Linked DNA regions of Homo sapiens: regions 1, 2 and 4 are each linked to region 3. Evidence: promoter capture Hi-C in human tissues and cell types (Jung and others, 2019). All regions are on one chromosome and are shown on one strand. Each heading gives the region's core, a stretch centred on a gene start or on the middle of the fragment in contact. The rest is flanking DNA. Distances are from core to core; before and after follow the strand shown. Region 1 overlaps EXTL3 (exostosin like glycosyltransferase 3). Region 2 has its middle 61 kb from the start of EXTL3. Region 3 holds the start of DCTN6 (dynactin subunit 6). Region 4 overlaps KIF13B (kinesin family member 13B).

Evidence for each region. The method cuts DNA at HindIII sites, captures the fragments that hold promoters and counts their contacts. A contact is called where the count stands out against the background at its distance.
Region 1: a fragment that was not itself captured here is called in contact with the fragment with the promoter of DCTN6 in region 3 in 1 of the 25 tissues and cell types used here (dorsolateral prefrontal cortex).
Region 2: a contact is called between a fragment that was not itself captured here and the fragment with the promoter of DCTN6 in region 3, in 1 of the 25 tissues and cell types used here (dorsolateral prefrontal cortex).
Region 4: a fragment that was not itself captured here is called in contact with the fragment with the promoter of DCTN6 in region 3 in 1 of the 25 tissues and cell types used here (dorsolateral prefrontal cortex).

What each region holds. Positions count from the first base shown.
Region 1 is chr8:28,706,571-28,709,435 of GRCh38, reverse strand. The region is part of intron 1 of EXTL3 (exostosin like glycosyltransferase 3); the gene reads right to left. Among named protein-coding and RNA genes, the nearest start is that of EXTL3, 6.5 kb to the right of the region's middle. The HindIII fragment of the contact is 3,077 bases long and covers 1-2,865 here.
Region 2 is chr8:28,761,064-28,764,124 of GRCh38, reverse strand. No RefSeq gene overlaps it. Among named protein-coding and RNA genes, the nearest start is that of EXTL3, 61 kb to the right of the region's middle. The HindIII fragment of the contact is 6,871 bases long and covers 1-3,061 here.
Region 3 is chr8:30,154,796-30,157,886 of GRCh38, reverse strand. It overlaps DCTN6 (dynactin subunit 6), which reads right to left and starts at 1,518. Exons shown (of 7, transcript NM_006571.4): 1 at 1,481-1,518. The coding sequence starts at 1,503. DCTN6-DT (DCTN6 divergent transcript) reads left to right here and starts at 1,227. Exons shown (of 1, transcript NR_186490.1): 1 at 1,227-2,058. LOC124901927 (a long non-coding RNA gene) reads left to right here. Exons shown (of 2, transcript XR_007060880.1): 2 at 5-715. RefSeq lists a silencer at 1,148-1,257 and enhancers at 1,318-1,467, 1,411-2,393, 2,218-2,427. The HindIII fragment of the contact is 3,226 bases long and covers 1-2,940 here.
Region 4 is chr8:29,122,901-29,125,715 of GRCh38, reverse strand. It overlaps KIF13B (kinesin family member 13B), which reads left to right. Exons shown (of 40, transcript NM_015254.4): 27 at 1,593-1,692; 28 at 2,224-2,350. Among named protein-coding and RNA genes, the nearest start is that of KIF13B, 140 kb to the left of the region's middle. The HindIII fragment of the contact is 4,670 bases long and covers 1-2,815 here.

The DNA of each region.
Region 1 (2,865 bases), core at 191-2,690, 1.4 Mb after region 3:
ATGAAGGGAGAACAGAGTGAGAAACAGAGAGAGAGGCTAGACGCTTTCCAGATGTTCCCAATGAAACCTTCAACGGCCTCTAATATCTTAAATAATTATGATAATAGCTAACAGGTATTGAATGCTTACTGTATGCCGGGTTAAACCTATTACCATATATTCCTCAACACACTCACTTAATCCTCACAGCAATCCCGTGAAGTGGGTTTACTGTTATTCCTGTTCTGTACACGAGGAAACCAAAGCACAGAGGCTAATGAGCCATGGGTCACCCATGTTATGTGGTAAAACTTGAATTCAAACCAAAGCAAGCTGGCTGTAAAGCTCATACCTTTAATGCCTTTATTATGTTACACTGTCTATATTAATTCAAGTAAGAGTGCGAGCAGGCACACACACACATGCCTATCATGTGTATCATTTTTACATTCTCCATATCACTGCTACTCCGCTGTAACCATGAATAATAATTACAATTGACACACATAATATTCCTCTAAAACCCAAAACCAACACTATATTCAAAGTATTTACCTGCTAAAGAGAATAGCAGACTCAGAACAAAAGATGTTTGCCACTGTGCCTATGGCCCACCTGTATATCTGTGCTTGTAGTACTATTTTCTCTTTTTCATTTAGGTCAAAATAGGCCCATCAAGTGGCAGAACTCCATGACAACCCAGGTGCGGGTTCTACAGAGCTGTCTGCATGCTGCTGTCATTGCTGCCATCACCAGGAGCCCTTCCAATTAGGTAAAGAGAGTTCTCCACAGGAAACCATTTCAGTGAGGTCACTGAAAGCAGTATTTCAGAGGATTGTTTTGTTTTTAAGTACTAACAACCCAAAAAAACATCATTTCCTGATTTCCTAACTACAGGCATGACAAACAGCCTGTCAAGGCAAGACAGTACCTAGTTCGTGAAGTCAGGAAGTATGTTAATAAGCACTAAAACACATTTCCCAACACTATCACTGATTTGTCTTCTGTTTAAAAAAAAAAAAAAAAAAAAGGCACTTCCCAGGGAAACTAATTGTAGATAAAGAGTAAGCTCTAAGAACTACATGTAGACACTTCCCAAGTTACAGGAGACCAAGGCCCTATGTTTTTCACAATCCAACGACCACAGTGGTTTCTTACTGTGTAACCTAGCCTGGATGAAAAAAGGGAAACAGAACATCCTCAGCAATTAAAAAGCAAAACGAAGTGTGAAAAACTGGTTGTGCCTTGACCTACTGACTGAAGAGTGAAGATTATGATGCAACCAGAGAACCAGAGTTTGAGCCGCCCTTATTACAGGGCTGTTTGAAAGGGAAAACAATTTATTCTTTGGGCTTAAGAGTAGGTTTCTAAATCCCAAGGTGTTCCACAAATGCCACTAGCAGACAAATCACAAAATACAAAAGGAACTCATCAATAAGTGGTGAGCATTCCTTCCGCTGCTGAATATATAGATATTAACAAGGAAAATGAGGCTATTGATTACTCCAAGTTATCTGTTTACTTGGCAACAAACCTGGGCCCAGAAGTCTCAACTCCCAGGATAAGTCCTCAATTTGAAAATTATGCCATTGCCTTATCTGCTTCCCTTCCCACCAGTTCGCTAATGTCCCACAAATCCAAATCGTATTGTTTTACCAGTCAGTTTAATTATGTGTAAAAATCAGATTCACCACTTAAGAATTTTTTCAAATAACAAACCGGGACCGTGCTACATTAACTAAATCAGAATTCCTAGGTGTGGGGGAAAACTCCTGCAGTTTGACAAAGTTCCCAGGTGATTTTAATGCAGAGCACACAACCCTAACTCCAAAACTATTGGTCTAATGAAGAATTGATAGTAATGGAGATTCAGATTGATGGCAGCTCAATCAACATAGACAGCTAAGGAAGACAAACAGCACTATCCCTTAGCTAACGCAGAAAGTCCGCACTTCAATGCACCACATACCCTTGGAAGATGGGGAGGAGAGGGCTTTTTCATAATTGCTACTGATTTATATTTACAGTGTGCTAGGCACAGTACTCTAGATAACACACTTCACACATACATTTCATCAGCCACATGGGAGTACTGTCATTTCCACTTCACCGATGAAGCAGTGGTGTATCACCAAGGATAGGAAACTTGTTCAAGGCAATACAGCAACCAAGTTACAAATCCAGGTCCGTATGACCTACAGCCCTGTATACTGCTTCTTGCTTATCTACCATTTGTTTACTTAGAGGATTCATTTTGTCTTAATTCATTTTACAATCATTATGTATTACTTTTGTAATTAAAAATATTACCTTGTTGCAATCTTTTTAAAGAACACCTCATTACATTTTTCAATAAATAATGTGACACATCTATTTGGGAAAAAAAATAAAGTCAGATTACTGCATGACAAACCAAATCCAAAAATAAGTTCCAGGTGGATTCAAGAGTTAATTATAATAAATGAACCGTAACAAGAAAAGGAAAATATACATGTAATCTCATCTCAAGTACAGCCACTTTTCCAGGAATCCAAGCAAAAGTAAAATCCAGAAATGTTCAACAGGTTTGACTATATAAGAATCAAATGATTCTATGTATTCAGAAGGAAAAAAAAAAAGCTTAAATTTGATTAAAAATGGGGAAGCCTGCTCAATATGACAGAATTAAAAGAAAGCAATCAACAGTGGTCAACGGACATAAATAAGAAGTTACACAAAAAAAGGGTTCAAGTGATAAACATGTTTATATGTTTAACCTTCCTAGCGATCAAAGAAATACACATTTCAAACAAGATACTGTGATATTTTCCACTAATAAATCATCAAAGTATTGTAAAATTATAATATCTGGTGCTAAGCAGGATCCAGGGTAAACATTCCCACACT
Region 2 (3,061 bases), core at 113-2,612, 1.4 Mb after region 3:
TCCTCAGGCATGTAGAATATTTCTTGCTTCTCTTCTGTTGGCATTGCAGGCCATTGAAAAAAATGTGCAAAGCCCCCGTGTAATGGTGTTTGTGTTAGAAGGATTTACCCTTTACCTTTTTCTACAATAAACATTCCTAACCCATGTGTAAGCCTCCCTGATGTAGTTATCAAATCAATCACCAGTAAAAAGTAACTTAATTCTCCTACAATAAATTCTGAGTTACCAAACACATTATCAATTAAAATAAGTTTGCTAACGTTTCCTTAAATTATCCAATATAAGTTTTTACTCTAGTAACTATTTACATTTGCTTCACATACTTTGGAAATAATGGACTTTCATTTCACAAAGCCTTTCCCAATCATCAGTAAGCACCTTCCAGTCATCAGTGGGCATTAGTCGGCAGCTGCTCACATATTCGGTGTGTTGTGCCCTCTCTCATGGCTTTAGCTCACCGTCACAGATAAGCATTTCTCCCAGACTTACAGCTAGAGAGGAGCACATTTCCAGGACCATGAGCACCCTGGGGGCAGGGTCTGTTTTTTCCACCTTGTCCCAGCATGAGGCTTGTGGAAGAAGGTAAGGAAAGAAAATTTCAGAAATATTTAGGAATTACAGGCCAAAACAACATTTCCTGGTGGGTCAGTTTTTTAACTGCAATGTTCTAAACATGGGAACCTGCACATAAGTGTAAAAATCCCTATCATTTAGCCCATGCTTTAAAATAGCTACTCGATTCAGTGGGCAGCTTCCTGATGAGATGAATCAGAGGTTGGTAACTGTGGCCGAAAAGCCAAATCTGGCCCACAAGCAGAGTTGTTAGAAAAAAGATGCAACAGAAATCACATGTGGCCCACAAAGCCTAAAACACTGGCTGACCCTTTACAGAAAAAGTATGCCAATCCCTGCTCAAGTGCTGTGTGTGGGAACATTTCTGTAGTTTATTCAAGTAAAGGTCAAATAATGGAATGGCAATGTAACAGCTCCCATCAGACCTGACCCTCCTAGAGGTAAAACTATAAACTCCAGACGTATGTAGTTACGTAAGTAGGTAGATAGAACAACCTACCACAAAAAAACAATTCCATTAGAGATTTTATCACCCTTGTAATAATTATTAAAACAACTAGACAAAAAAAAAGTCATAGATGACCTGAACAAAACTGTCAAAAACTTTGACTTAATTGATACTTTTTAGAATACTTGCTCTGCAGCAGCAGAATGTTTACTATGAAAACCATATGCTAGGTGATAAATCTCATTACATCTGAAAGGACCGAACGCATACACAAAACCTTCTCCCACCACAATGGAATTAAATTCAAACTCAACGAAGTATTTTGGAAAACCACAAATATTTAGAAATTAAACACTTCTAAAATAGCTCATGGATCAAAGAAGACATCCCAAAATGAATTGGAAAGTATTTTGAACAGAAAATTAAAGCTCAACATGTACAGGATACTGCTAAAGTAGTGCTTAAAAGTCATCTTATACCTTTAAATGCTTACAGAAAAAATGAAAGACCTAAACTTGATCTAAATTTTTACCTTAGAAGACTATAAAAAGAGCCAAATAAACCCAAAGAAAGTAGAGGAAAGAAATCATAAAAATAAGCAAAACATGAGCAAAACAGAACAGAGAAAACTAACAAAGCCAAAAGCTGATTTTTTAAAACATCAGCAGAACTGATACACACCTCATTAGACTGATCAAGGAAAGACAGGACCGACTGCCCATATGGGCAGTGAAAAAACTTTGGTTATCACTACAGATCCTACGGATATGAAGAAGACAGCCAATCAGAAAGGAAAGGGGGGTATTACTAAAGAGCCTACAAATATTAAAGGGATAAAAAGAACACCAACTTATGCCAACAGATTTACCACCACAGATAAAATGGAAAATTTCCTTTGAAGACACAAATAGACAAAGCTCATTCAATAAGAAAAAGAACTTGATATTCACTTAAGAAATTAAATTTATTATCTTCTCACAAGGAAAACTCCAGGCCTAGATGGTTTCCCTGGGAAACTATCAAACATTTAAGGAAGAAATAACACCAATCTTGTATAACCTCTATCAAAAAGAGGAAGGGGGAATATTCCAGTCCCTTTTAAGGGGCCAGCATAACTCTAATACCAAAACCTTATAAAGTCATTACCAAAAAAGAAAATGAGAGGTAAATATCTCTCATGAACATCAATGCAAAAAAAAAAAAAAAAAAAACTTACCAGCAACCTGAATCCAGCAATACACAAATAGGATAATATGACATGACCAAGTAGGGTTTATCCCTGGAATGCAAGGATAATTAAATATTTGAAAGCCAATCTAATTTATAATAGAATAGAGGATCATTTCGATAGATACAGGAAAAAAGCATTTGATGAAATTCTCTAACAGCACTCAGCAGACAGGAATAAAAGGGAACATACTCAACCTGATAAAGGTTATGTATGAAAAACTTAACAGCTCAGTGAAATACTAGAGCTTTTCCCCAAATATTGAGAGCAAAGCAAGGTGCCGATCCATACTACTGTTCTATAGTGTTCTCGGAGTCCCAGTCATTGCAATAAGGCAAAATTGAAGAGGAAAAGGCAGGCAGGCATACAAACAGATAAAGCATAAAGGTAGGAAAGAAGTAAAACTGTTTTCAGATGAGACTTTTTACATAGAAAGTTCTAAGAAATCTAGAAAACTACTGGAATAAGCTCACAAGACTGCAAAATACAAGGTTAGTATCCAAAAGTCAACTGTATTTTATATATTAACAAGTTTTTGAGAGAGAGTCTTACTTTGTCACCCAGGCTGAAGTGCAGTGGCACAGTCATGGCTCACTGCAGCCTTAAACTCTCAGGGTCAAGTGATACTCCCACCTCAGTTTCCTGAGTAGCTGGGATCACAGGCACATGCCACTGCATCCAGCTAATTTTTTTTTTCTTTTTACTTTTATAGAGACCCACCTTGGCTTCCCAAAGTGCTCGGATTACAGGTGTGAGGCACAACACCTGGCCAGAAATAAAATGTTTTTAAAACAGCAACTTCATTCATAATA
Region 3 (3,091 bases), core at 269-2,768:
TTAGCTTATGAAAAAAGATTACAGAGTATCTACTTAAATGGAAGAAAAATCTACATTTTAATTTATGGCACCAGAAACAATGTCAGTTTTCTTTGTCAAAAATAGTCAGCAGAGGGAGCTCAACACTGCTGCTGTTCGAAATGGCTTTACTTATGCACTTGTCTCATCCCAGCCACCAACAGCCACCAACAGCCCCCAGCAATGAAGACTACCGGAGAAGAAGCCAAACTTCCTGTCCCCACATGTTTACAAAGGAGCTTGTCCACTCCACGCCTGGCAAAAAATGTCACAGTTCTAAGCTTATACACTATTGGTGGGAATATAAATTAGTTCATCTATTGAAAATAGTATGGTGATTTCTCAAAGGACTAAACACAAGTACCATTGGACCCAGCAATCCATATAGAGCTACCAATCCAAACGGAACTACCATTCGACCCAGGATCTACTCAAAGGAAACCATTGTATTAAAAAGACAACTGCACTCCTATGACTATCACTGTACTATTCACAATAGCAAAGTATGGAATCAACCTAAGTGTTCATCAACGGATGACTGGATAAAGGAAATGTGGTGTATCTATACGATGGAATACTACAGAGCCATCAAAAAGAAAGGAAACATGTCTTTTGCAACAACATGGATGGAACTGGAGGCCATTACCTTACGCGATAACTCAGAAATAAAATCAAATGCACATGTTCTCACTTTTAAGTGGGAGCTAAAATGAGTACACATAAACATAAAGAGGGAAATAACAGACACTGGGGACTCTAAAAGCAGCGAGGGTAGGAGGGGTTTGAGGGCTGAAAAATTACCCATCTGATACAATGTTCACTATTTGGGTGGTAAGTACACTAGAAGCCAACTTCACCATTACGCAATTTATCTATGCAACAAATCTGCGCAAGTACTCCTTGCATCTATATAATGTGTGTGTGTGTGTGTCACAGTTCAAGTCCAGGCGCGGCCCCCCTTTTGACAGCGACCGTAAATCCCTTTACACACCCCACCCTCCAGAGACAGGAAGGGCCTGGGGTGCGGCCAGCACTGGCGTGGGGGTCTCGCAACATGCAGCAGAGAATCCAGCGCCAAGCCGTGGGGTACAGCGGCGCCAAGCACCGCCGATTATGCGGGAGAAGGGAGCCGGCCTTCCCCAGGAAAAAGCTGACGTCACCCTCCCCTCACAGCCCCCCCCGCCCTCCCGGCCGGGAGACCCCCTCTGCGCAGGCGCATGTGGGGAGGGACGGCCAGACAGGAACAAAAACCTTCCAGGCAGCGACTCCGCGTCCCTTCTCAACCCTCCCCGCCCCCACTCCGTCGCCCCCTCCCTCAGTGGACGCCAGGTCTGGGCTTCAGGTACCTTCGGCCCGAATGCCCAGGATGAGACACCTTCTGAGTCGCCACCATTGGCGACCAGGAACAGGTTCCACCCCTACGGAAAGCTGAGAAAAGGCTTTTCTCAAGCAGCAAACCCACCTCTTTTGAGTCTTCTCCGCCATGGTACGGCCCCAATTGGAACGTAGATCGACACCACCGCCTGGGTAGAGCGATAATTCCACATGCGATTGGAGAGCCTGGCAGGGTTGGGGGAGGGGCGGAGCCGGGGTGGGGCGGGGACCCGGAAGCTTGCGACTCTTGTTTGCGTCGCGTCTGGGCGCACAGGACTGTACTTTTGGTAGCGGTGCGGGGCCGCCCGCGGACTTTAGCCCTGCATAGAGATGGGTAGACCCTAATTTGGAACAGCCATTGACTGGGCACAGGCCAGCACTTTGGGAGGCCGAGAGGCCGAGGCAGGAGGATCGCTTGAGGCCAGGAGTGCCAGACTGCGAGACTAGCCTGGGTAACATAGTGAGACCCTCTCTTCAAAAAAAAAAAAAAAAAAAAAAAAAAAAAGCCTGTCACGGTGGCCTGCGCCTGTACCCCAGCTACTCGAGAGGATCGCCTGAGCCCAGTGAAGCTGCAGCGAGCTGTGAGGATGCCACCGCACTCCGGCCTGGGCTAAAAAGCTAGATCGTGTCTCTGATAAAAGAATAAAAGCTGTTTATTGCAATCCAGTCCGCGTCATTATGCCCTCATTTTACCCACTCGCGTAGGCGTAATTACACCCTAAAGGTATTTCTCTGACCTCGCCGATGTCCTTTTCAGCCTGTCTTTCTCTACTCATTAGGGCTCCTTCTGGCCCTTTTCTCGCTCTATATGAGTGCATCCTTCCTATAGGTTAAGTGCCCTCTACCTGTTTGCTCTCTAATGAATGTCTCTGGTTCTGCCCTCTGTGCCGATCTTCACACCTGACATTCGGTTGACTAATTGACATCTCCGCTCAGAGTCGTATCGAACCTAAAACTTACAGAACATGACTTTCGATTAACACTGCCGTCCTCCCTGCAACCTGCTGCTTTTTTGATCCACACCATTTGCCTAGCTGCTCAAGCCAGACACTCAAGAGTCACCCTGGCACTCCTCACCCCTACATCTGTAATAGATCTGCAAGTTCTGCTTGTCCTACCTCGGGTCTCATGCTTACACTTTTGTCTACCGGACCATCTCTCTAATCTCAGCCGATGTGTCTCTCCCAGTTGTTCACTCATTCTGTACTTGGCCTCTGAAATCACACCTCCTCATCTCCCACCCCCAACCCTGATCCAAGTAGTTCTCTTGTAGTCAAAATCATCCTTTAAAAGACAAATTGAGGCCAGGCGCGTGGCTCAAACCGGTAATCCCAGCACTTTGGGGGGCCGAGATGGGAGGATCGCTTGAGGCCAGGAGTTGGAGACCAGCCTGGTCAACACAGCATGATCCCGTCTCTATATATTTTTTCTATAATGTATTTTTTTAATGGAAAAAAATTAAAAATAAGAGCCAAATTCAGTTATTTCCCCTTCCTCTTAAAATCTAAAATCCAAACTGCTTTCCATAACCTATCTCTGAGCTACATCCAGCCCCTGCCTACTTCTCTCTTTCTCTTTCTATGTGTTCGATCACACCCTCATTCTCCAAAAAAGCAAAGCTGACTCTCCACCCCCAACCGCTTCCACTTGCCCCCACCCTAACACCTTCTGACCCTTTATGTCTCGGATGTCACATACT
Region 4 (2,815 bases), core at 307-2,806, 1.0 Mb after region 3:
CTTTGTTTCTTTCTGTGCAGTTTCATCTGTTAGTCATCGTTCAGGACTGTCAGGGCTCTTTGGAGCCTGATTATGTCATCCGTGTAGTCACTTTCCTGGTTTTGCATCATTCTAATTTGATAGAAATGTCTGCTTTCCTATAAGTCACTGATAAAAACACTGTATCAGATAGGATTAAATACAGAGTCCTATGGCACAACAATAGAGACTTTTTTCAAGCTGACATTAATCACTATTCTTCGGATGTGATATTTGAGTCCTCTGTGATTTCACTTAAGTAGATGCATCGCACGTTTCTCCATCTTGTCCACAACAATGTCATAGGCTATTTGGTTAAGTGCCCTAGTAAAGCCCAGACACACTATATCTGCAGCATTCCACTGACCTACCCAGTCTTGTAACCTTATTAGAAAAGGAAATGAGGTAAGATTGATATTCATGTAGGTGTTGACTGGTAGGTTGTTATTCTGTTGATGACAACCCCTATCCCCTCTTTCCCCTACCTGTTGCCCCACAAAATGCATAAAAACAAGTGAGAGAAGCATTTACATGTTGTCTTCAAGAGCCTGTTTTGACATATAGAAAGCAGAAGTTACAAAAGTTGATTCTTCTGATTATTCTAAGGTACATAAATTGAAAGTGGTTTTTTGTTTGTTTTGTTTTTTGGAGACAGAGTCTTGCTCTACCACCCAGACCATAGTGCAGTGGAGTGATCTTGGCTCATTGCAACCTCTGCCTCTCAGGTTTAAGTAATTCTCTTGCCTCAGCCTCCCAAGTAGTTGGCATGAAAGGTGAACACCACCATGCCCAGCTAATTTTTTTTTTTTTTTTTGGGATGGAGTTTTGTTCTTGTTGCCCAGGCTGGAGTGCCATGGCACAGTCTCGGCTCATTGCAACCTCTGCCTCCCGGGTTCAAGCGATTCTCCTGCCTCAGCTCCCAAGTAGCTGGGATTACAGGTACCCGCCACCACGCCTGGCTAATTTTTGTATTTTTAGTAGGGATGGGGTTTCACCATGTTGGGGAGGCTGGTCTCAAACTCCTGACCTCAGGTTATCTGCCTGCCTTGACCTCCCAAAGTGCTGGCATTACAGATGTGAGCCACTGCGCCTGGCCAATTTTTTATATTTTGAGTAGAGACAGGGTTTCGCTGTGTTAGCCAGGCTGGCCTCAAACTCCCGTCCTCAAGTGATTCACCTGCCTCAGCCTCCCAAAGTGCTGGGATTACAAGTGTGAGCCACCACGCCCAGCCATATTGGAAGATTATTGAGTCCTGTTTATCGGTTTTATCCAGCAAAGAGACCTTTTAGAAGATTTTTGTTGCAGGTGCTTAAAGCTCTACCCCCAAGCCATTAGAAATAAAACTGGTTCTGGATACCTGAGAATGCCCTTTCTGTTCTAGAAAATAATGCTTTAAATTCTGAAAATAGCTGTTTTGAAAGATGGGCGCAGTCAACTGGTGGTAGCAATAAAGAAATTATTGTATACTACCTTACCTTTCCAAGGCATAGTAGAGCAAGGTAAGATAGAGCATCAGTTTCAGATAGATTATCTTGACATTACATTGAATATGATTTTCCTTGCTTGCTTCCAGGATCGAGATTTAGAGAGACTTCGTAGAAAATGGCTAAATGCATTAACAAAACGTCAGGAGTACTTGGATCAACAATTGCAAAAGCTTGTCAGTAAACGTGGTAGGAAAAACAAATAGAATATTTTTCTCCCCTGCAAATCAATGCATAATTAATTATTCTCCCTTTGTAGCCACATCAGTTAAGAACCAGATGAACACATCAGTAATGGGGATGGCAGGAGCAGATGAGTGTTACTCTTTGTTTATGTCATATCCTTTATCCAGCTGTCGTATCTTGGTGGAGGTCTTCCTCCCACCCCCTACAAAGAAAGAGCAAATACAGTGCACAAAGCATACATGGTTTGTCAAAGATAACATAAAGGAAGGTGGTAACTTTTCTTATCCAAAGGGCTCGAGTCCTCTGACTCTGGACCAGTCACTCCTGTGCGGTCCCTCTGTAGGCCTCCCAGGAACTGAAGATGGCCTCTCTGCAGGAGCCCATCTGACCTCTCTAGCTGTGGGTTAGTTTTTATCACTGGGGAGCACTTGTGAGCTAATAATTGAAATATAGGCAAATCCAGTCTTTACTCAGGACAAAAAGATAAATGGCAAGTGAAGTTTTGTCATTGAATCCTCATTCTCGATGTTCTAGATAAAACAGAGGATGATGCTGACCGTGAAGCGCAGCTTCTGGAGATGCGGTTGACCCTAACTGAGGAGAGGAACGCGGTGATGGTCCCCTCTGCTGGCAGTGGTATTCCAGGGGCCCCAGCAGAATGGTATGAACCCTGTGGTGCGTCTTGTGAGGTCTGAACGCTCACCAAGCCACTTGCTTTTAGCTTGAATTTTGCGTGTGCTACGGTTAATGGAAGAGTCAATAGCATGGGGGGAAATGTTGTTTAAATTAAAGGAACTGTTAAATTATTTTCATGAGTTGAATAACTATGGCCTAAAACTGTTTTATTAAATAATGTTGTTATTGGCCAAAGTCATTAAGATTTCTGAGAACTTAAATCAATATTTAATACCACTGCACTTAGCATTAAGAAAATAGTTAATATGTTAATTACTTGGGTCATTCCCTTAGAAGACTGTTCGGTCATAAGAAAATTGCATCTCCACGCGATTTTGGTTTTGGTGCTGGCTTAAACTGTACTGTCAGCAAATGTTCTGTGCTACGTTATAGAAATTAAAAATAGTAAATTTAGCCAGAGGAAGCCCTTAAGTATATCATTTTATAAGAA